Regions from separate parts of the Homo sapiens genome. Here region 1 is linked to region 2. Evidence: promoter capture Hi-C in 16 types of primary human blood cells and fetal thymus (Javierre and others, 2016). All regions are on one chromosome and are shown on one strand. Each heading gives the region's core, a stretch centred on a gene start or on the middle of the fragment in contact. The rest is flanking DNA. Distances are from core to core; before and after follow the strand shown. Region 1 overlaps ARMCX5-GPRASP2 (ARMCX5-GPRASP2 readthrough). Region 2 holds the start of ARMCX5 (armadillo repeat containing X-linked 5).

Region 1 (4,120 bases), core at 1,230-3,729, 230 kb after region 2:
ATCTAATAAGGTGATTTGAGATTCCTTTAAATATGACTAGCCATGCTATCTTGGCCATCTTACATATATGCTGTCCAGACCTAAGAGTACAGTGGGTGACAGGTGCCTTGCTTTCTTCTCTCACAGATGTTGCCAAATGTCTCTGCAAAGAGGTTGTACCAATTTGTCCTCCCTAGGCCATGTATGGAATTATCATGGCCCTGCATTTTCCATTTAATGAGGATACAGCATAAACACCAACTCACTGATTGAGTTTACTTTTCTTTTCTTTTCTTTTTTATTATACTTTAAGTTTTAGGGTACATATGCACAACGTGCAGGTTAGTTACATATGTATACATGTGTCATGTTGGTGTGCTGTACCCATTAACTCATCATTTAACATTAAGTATATCTCCTAATGCTATCCCTCCCCCCAGCCCACAACAGGCCCCAGTGTGTGATGTTCCCCTTCCTGTGTCCATGTGTTCTCATTGTTCAATTCCCACCTATGAGTGAGAACATGCAGTGTTTGGTTTTTTGTCCTTGCGCTAGTTTGCTGAGAATGATGGTTTCCAGCTTCATCCATGTCCCTACAAAGGACATGAACTCATCATTTTTTATGGCTGCATAGTAATCCATGGTGTATATGTGCCACATTTTCTTAATCCAGTCTATCATTGTTGGACATTTGGGTTGGCTCCAAGTCTTTGCTATTGTGTGAATAGTGCTGCAATAAACATACGTGTGCATGTGTCTTTATAGCAGCATGATTTATAATCCTTTGGGTATATACCCAGTAATGGGATGGCTGGGTCAAATGGTATTTCTAGTTCTAGATCCCTGAGGCATCGCCACACTGACTTCCACAATGGTTGAACTAGTTTACAGTCCCACCAACAGTGTAAAAGTGTTCCTATTTCTCCACATCCTCTCCAGCACCTGTTGTTTCCTGACTTTTTAATGATCACCATTCTAACTGGTGTGAGATGGTATCTCATTGTGGTTTTGATTTGCATTTCTCTGATGGCCAGTGATGATGAGCATTTTTTCATGTGTCTTTTGGCTGCATAAATGTCTTCTTTTGAGAAGTGTCTGTTCATATCCTTTGCCCACTTTTTGATGGGGTTGTTTGTTTTTTTCTTGTAAATTTGTTTGAGTTCATTGTAGATTCTTATTCCAGGACATATTTAAGACATAAAGTTGGATCATTATGTTTCCATTTGGTAATTTAAATGTGAAATATGCCATTTATAGGAAAATAAAATATGGAAAATGAAAAATAATCTAACATTCCAACAAAAGTATATCACATTAGCAAATATTAATAATATAGTGAAACCCATTATTTGTACAGATCTTGGAAAATGAGTATTCATATCTTGTATTTCATTGTGACAAATTAGCAAAGAGATTTTAAGGTGAATTAGACAAATGTTTAATATTCATGCTTTTTGAGGAAGCAGTCCCACTTGTGGAAACTTATACTCTGGTTAACAGCCTGAGAGGTCCTTGCCATCATCAATCATGTGTCCCTCCTGCTCAGTGCTGAGCTGACCATTTGCCTAATTGGCTTGGTGCCTTAAGGACTCCCTGACCCTGTTCCATCCATCCTTTTATCCAAAGAGAAAAATAGGTCTCATGGCTGGATGCCCAATTTCAATGGACCTTGGGGTTGGATCAAACCCAAGGGTTGATATGGAGCAGTGCTCAGATCCTTACTCCTGGAGGGACAAGTAGATCTCTGGCCTCATCCCTATTTGGGATAAATCTCTCTTCCTCTCCTTTCTCTATGTCCTCAGAGGCCTTCCCTTTCCTACCAGATAACAAGCAGTCCAATCTTTCCCTTAAGTTTAAGTTTCCTAAAGAATGGAAGAAACTGGATTCAGACATCTTTGGCTCCCAACCCTGTCATAAACCTCCCCTAAGGCAAGGGGAAGGAACACCAAGCCTGGTTCCTTGCTGGAAATGCAAGGAGGGTAAACACAGGGAGGACAGACATTAACTTCCTTAACAGTGTGTGTCCAGATACATTTGCTAAAGATCTGCCACCAGCACTTAAGGTGCCCAGGTTGCCAGCTACTATCTCTGGCTCTCTCAGTTTCTGTGGTAATCAAATCCTTTGCCATTCTACTTTGCCCTTGCTCATCTGTAAAAGGGGACTCACAATGCCTTTCTTAGACAAATTTTCTGTGGGGTAAATGAGAAATCCCATACAGAGTAGATGGCACCTAGTAGAACTTCAACGAATGGTCATCCAGGCCCACCTTTTTCCTCCCTCCCAGAGAAGTGATGACTGTTATCTAAACCAAGCAGCATAATTGCCACAGAGACCACCTGGAAGGAGAGCAGGAAGATGGAGCATGTGCTCACACTTACATTATACATGGACCTTTGGGGCCATTTCTGTGTTGCAGGATGGTTTGCTGAGGTATTGGAGTGAGATGAGAAGATCGTCAAACCAATCCCCTATCATTTTCTGCCCCCTCATTTGATCTGCTACGTTGATTTGGAAAAGCAGTTTCTATTGAGCCTCAAATGAAGAGAGAGTGCAGATGAAGAGGAGGCAGGAGTCATAAGCCTTTGACCCTTATACCAGACCCATTACCACCTATAGGACCTTGCACTGGGATTTCATCTGCACGATCAGCTCTTTCAAAGAGAGAGAGGTTGTTGAGTGAGTACCCACAAGGGCATAATCCTGGCAACATAAAAAACTGCAAGTGTTTGGCTGGGCGTGGTGGCTCATGCCTGTAATCCCAGCACTTTGGGAGGCTGAGGCGGGCGGATCACAAGGTCAGGAGATCGAGACCATCCTGGCTAACACAGTGAAACCCCATCTCTACTAAAAATATGAAAATTAGCCAGGTGTGGTGGCGGGCGCCTGTAGTCCCAGTTACTCGGAAGGCTGAGGCAGGAGAATGGCGTGAACCCGGGAGGCAGAGCTTGCAGTGAGCCGAGATTGCGCCACTGCACTCCAGCCTGGGCAACAGAATGAGACTCCGTCTCAAAAAATATACATAAAATAAATAAAAATTAAAAAAAAAACTACAAGTGTTTAAGTCTTAGACGGTCATCCACTATAAAAGGAGACAATGTGTTGTCCTTTGAGGAGAGTGAGAGTTACATCCCTGCTCCTGATCATTACTAGATGCCTCTGCAAAATTGATTTTCCATCAGTGAGTCTTAGTTGGTCATCTGTAAACTGGAAATAATGATGCCTTCCTTATAGACTTGGAGAGAATTATGCAAAATATGTAATTGTACATTTTTGGCTATAAATATTTGTGCTATTGTAGAGTAAGTGCCCTTTTGCACCTTTTTCCCCTCTGAAAATAGTGTTTCTGAGATTAATAACGTGATTTTGGGGCTGTTTAGATATTATGAATCCTGACCATTTTTGTACCATTGCCCAGGCTGCTTGATTCTATCCCTGGCTCCATTAGTTTGTGTGGTGAGCAAACTCTTTGCCATCCAGCTCTGTGCTTAGGAGCAAGTGCGCTGTAGTCATATACATCCATGAAGAGAGCATAATTGTACCTCACTAGTAGGGTTGTCATGAGAATTAAATTCAATCACTAAAGTGAAGAACATGGAGCTGGACCCTCTAAACAATGTGTTCTATCAATATTAGTTGCCTTTCCTCTCTGGATCAGAAAACTAATGTGGCTCCTAACCTGACCCCTCAGGTAGGACTCCTTCACTTGCATGCATGTCAGAATTAGCTTGGAGATCTTTTCTAAACCTTTAGCAGAAACTCACTTGTTGTTGGAAATAAGACTTCTATATCAAAGTCCATTCAAGTGATTAAGCCATAGTAATATGGGCCTCAGAAAGTAGATATTCCATTTGACACCTAAAGTGTTATGTGAAAACTCATTTCCCCTCCATTCCATCTGTTCCAGGTATGACCAGCTTTTGCCTTTACTGCCACTCTGATCGCTCATTTCCTTAGACCTGCCCATTGAAAGAGCTCTCTCAGATAATTGTTAACTTAGAGATTCACAGCTCTTGTTCCTCTGTGGTGTCTCCTGTTTCAAGAGCCCAACATGAAAATATGGCATGCTTCTATGATGTTAACGTGCTGATAAAATGAGAGGACACAAAATAGCTTATTATCTGGAAATAGGATGCTGATTAT
Region 2 (3,836 bases), core at 641-3,140:
TTGTAGAACAGCATGGTTCTGGTACAAAAACAGACACATAGACCAGTCGAACAGAATAGAGAACTCAGAAATAAGACTGCACATATACAGCTATTTGATCTTCGACAAACCTGACAAAAACAAGCAATGGGGAAAGGATTACCTATTTAATAAATGGTGCTGGGAAAACTGGCTAGCCATATGTAGAAAACTGAAACTTGACCCCTTGCTTACACCTTATACAAAATTTAACTCAAGATGGATTAAAGACTTAAATGTCAAACTCAAAACTATAAAAACCCTGGAAGAAAATTTAGGCAATACCATTCAGGACACAGGCACAGGCAAATTGCCAAAAGCAATTGCAACAAAAGCAAAATTTGACAAATGGGATCTAATTAAACTAAAGAGCTTCTGCACAGAAAAAGAAACTATCATCCGAGTGAACAGGTAACCTACAGAAGAGAAAATTTTTGCAGTCTATCTATCTGACAAAGGTCTAATATCCAGAATCTACAAGGAACTTACATTTACGAGAAAAAAACAAACAACCCCATTAAAAAGTGGGCAAAGGACATGAACAGACACTTCTCAAAAGAAGACATTTATGTGGCCAACAAACACATGGAAAAAAGCTCAACATCACTGATCATTAGAGAAATGCAAATCAAAATCACAATGAGATACCATCTCACACCAGTCATAACGGCAATTAATACAAAGTTAAGAAACAAGAGATGCTGGCAAAGTTGCAGAGAAATGGGAACGCTTTTACATTGGTGGGAATGTAAATTAGTTCAACCATTGTGGAAGACGGTGTGGCAATTCCTCAAATATCTAGAACCAGAAATACCATTTGACCCAGCAATCCCATTACTGGGTATATACCCAAAGGAATATAAATCATTCTATTACAAAGATACACGCACACGTATATTCATTGCCGCACTATTCACAATAGCAAAGACGTGGCATCAACCCAAATGCCCATCAGTGATAACATTAAGAAAATGTGGTGCATATACACCATGAAATACCATGCAGCCATAATAAAGAATGAGATCATGTCCTTTGTAGGGACATGGATCGAGCTGGAAGCCATTATCCTCAGCAAACTAATGCAGCAACAGAAAACAAATACTGCATGTTCTCCCTTATAAGTGGAAGCTGAACAATGAGAACACATGTACACAGGGAGGGGAAAAACACGCACTGGGACCTGTCAGGGGTTGTGGGGGGCGGTGAGGGAAAGCCTTAGGAAAAATAGCTAATGCATGCCAGGCTTAATACCTAGGTCATAGGTTGATTGGTGCAGCAAGCCACCACGGCACACGTTTGCCTATTTAACAAACACGCACATCCTGCACATGTATCCTAGAACTTAAAAAAAAAAAAAAGAAAATGAAAATTAAGGGCTGGGAGGGAGGACTCGAAGGAACACAAAGTTTGTGGAATCGATTAGTATGTATCCTCCTATCTCAGTCTTGACTCTCTTTGCTGACTTTCCTACCCTGGGCCCCACCCCGAGACCGCCCATTTCAGTGGGCCTCTGTGTTTGGAGAACGAACTTCGAAAGACTGGAACACTTCCGCCTGTCAGGCCAGAAGAGATTTCCTGACACCACAGCTGGAAACCCATGTGCATTTCAGTTCAGGAAAGAATGGTAGGCTTGGTGGGGGGAGCTCCCGCAAAAGGGGAACTAATACAGAAACACTCTGGTATTTGTCTGCCTCTCTTGTTCCAGCGCCGTTTTCCCTATATCCGGAATTCGTCCCTGCGCATTCCAATACCTGAAGCGGCCACAGGGTACAGGACAGGGAGCCCTCCGACAGAAAAGAGTCGCGGCGCTAAACAAAGCCTGATATCACTCCGCTTCCATAAGCCGGATCCCCATAAACTACGCTCTAGCTCCTCCCACTGCCGTTGTGGGTAACGCGGACGTGGAAGAACCTCGTCTGCGGAGGAAAAGGTAGATGTTAAATGGTAACTACGCGCGAGGTTCTGAGGAGCCCTGGGAACAGGAAGGAGAAAAGAATACCAAAAGTGACAACAGTTTGCCAATCGCAGTCTTTAATCTGATAAAGCGGTTATCTCGTCTTGAGTCCCAGGTGCCGAGTCAATCCCCATACACAGCCGCCGCCATTGCCTCGAGTCCTTGTGTCTGACTGTCTGTTCCTGCTGCTGTATGACACAGCACCTCGAGGCAAGGAAATAAGAAAACTGCCTCTGATCCAAGCAGAGAAGGTCAGTGAGAAGGTGCGCATCGCTTGGGGGTGGATGTGGGTATCAGAGGTGAACACTGGATACGCGACCTGGTCATGGGAGGCGGGCGGTGAGAAGGAGAGAGAGATGGGTAATTGGAATGGCACACAACAATTAAAAAAAAATGATCTACCTTTTGCTAGCTTGATTTCCATACACTCGGTTCACCTCAGACCATGCTTGGGAAGAAAAAGGTTGCAGCTTCTAGCAGGGAAAAGGCAGACTAGATGAGGAAGAGAGGGCTACTTCCACAGGCGAGGACAGTTGTCTGGGGAGCCCTGAGAGGGAGAGAATGTAAAAAGAGGTTGTAAATGTTTGATAATCAAGGCTCTGGATTTGAAAAGGGTCTCATGTCTTGGTTACTGGTCTGACCATTAATAACCACGTCTCTCTCTCTGTCTTTTCATTTGTTCTTTGGGTGTGTATCACGCGTTTTTATGTGTAAATCTGTTCCTAAGTTTGCAGCACTCCATGTTTCTGTAAAGATCTGTAGGGGACAGCAGACCTCAAGGGGAGAGGAGAAGGAAAAGAAAATTGGCCTGGTTTGTACAGAGTGGGCAGTACTTGGGAGGCAGTACTTGGAGGTGGTAGATGGCTAAGATTAGAGTAGGCAGGAGTGTAAGGGAGCCTCCAGAACTCTCTGCCAGCTTTCCTAACATGTCCTCCCTTACCCGCATTATGTTGCAGAAAATGATAGGCTTTGGGAGAGAGGAAGGAAACATAGGAACCCAGATGAAATATGGAAATAAATACTTTTCATTTTTTCCCCAGCCTCCGTGGTTTGTCTAGGCATTTCGTCCCTACTAACACCACTACTACTACCTTGTAGGGATGTTTGAGTTGTCTCTGTATAGGAATTGTCAGACTTTGAGAATAGAGCAGAGGGGCTTGGAGATTTAGGAGTGGGAGAAAAAGGGGAGATAGAAAATGTTTGCCAAACAGGTACTTATATCCAGAAAGAAACTGTGCCCTAGGTGCTGGTCTCTACCAAAAACAGCCTCAACTGTCTCCTGTGTCTTCATTTATTGGTCTCTGTTTTTGTGAATCCCTGTAGGTAGATCTGTCCCCAGGTCTGTGGAACTGTCAGTTGTGAAGTTTTGTAAAATGGTCACCCAACTTAAAACTAGGAAATTACGAAGAAGAGAAAATTGCCCTGTATCTGTTAAGGTTGGTGTAAAGGTACAGGGACAGGGGGGCAACTTCGACTAGAGAATTCCATCTCTTCTGTTTTGTCATTTTACCAATTATTCCCATCTGCCCCACCCCCTGCTGCTGCTGATTTAGTTGGGAGTCTTGGTAAGTTGTGGGGGTACAGAATGCTAAGCTGCCTTTCCCACTCTCCACTGCTTGTCCTGCTCTCACGCTTGAACCTAGTCTAATCTGAACGAGGGACATTCTAGGGCAATCACTGAAGAGGAAGATGGTGGGCAATAGGAAGGAGGAGGAGGAGTAGCCCTGAAACAAAGCAGTGGGGGAGAGGGGATAGGAGGAGGGAAACACTAGACAAAATCTGGAAAGGCAAGAATAAGGGCAAGGGACCAAGGTCTGTCACCAGGAGATCAGTTTCCACATTCTCCTGTTTGTTTATTTGTCCA

What was found. Contacts are between HindIII fragments. The CHiCAGO score rates a contact against its expected background, and 5 or more counts as called.
Region 1: a contact is called between a fragment that was not itself captured here and the fragment with the promoter of ARMCX5 in region 2, in 1 of 17 cell types (megakaryocytes). The highest score is 6.4, in megakaryocytes.

The regions. Positions count from the first base shown.
Region 1 is chrX:102,827,492-102,831,611 of GRCh38, forward strand. All of the region lies in intron 10 of ARMCX5-GPRASP2 (ARMCX5-GPRASP2 readthrough), which reads left to right. The region is part of intron 2 of LINC00630 (long intergenic non-protein coding RNA 630); the gene reads left to right. Among named protein-coding and RNA genes, the nearest start is that of LINC00630, 60 kb to the left of the region's middle. The HindIII fragment of the contact is 6,254 bases long and covers 1-4,120 here.
Region 2 is chrX:102,597,625-102,601,460 of GRCh38, forward strand. ARMCX5 (armadillo repeat containing X-linked 5) reads left to right here and starts at 1,891. Exons shown (of 4, transcript NM_001168478.2): 1 at 1,891-2,223; 2 at 3,296-3,408. It overlaps ARMCX5-GPRASP2 (ARMCX5-GPRASP2 readthrough), which reads left to right and starts at 1,891. Exons shown (of 19, transcript NR_146584.3): 1 at 1,891-2,223. RefSeq lists enhancers at 1,937-2,708, 2,141-2,190. The HindIII fragment of the contact is 9,703 bases long and covers 1-3,836 here.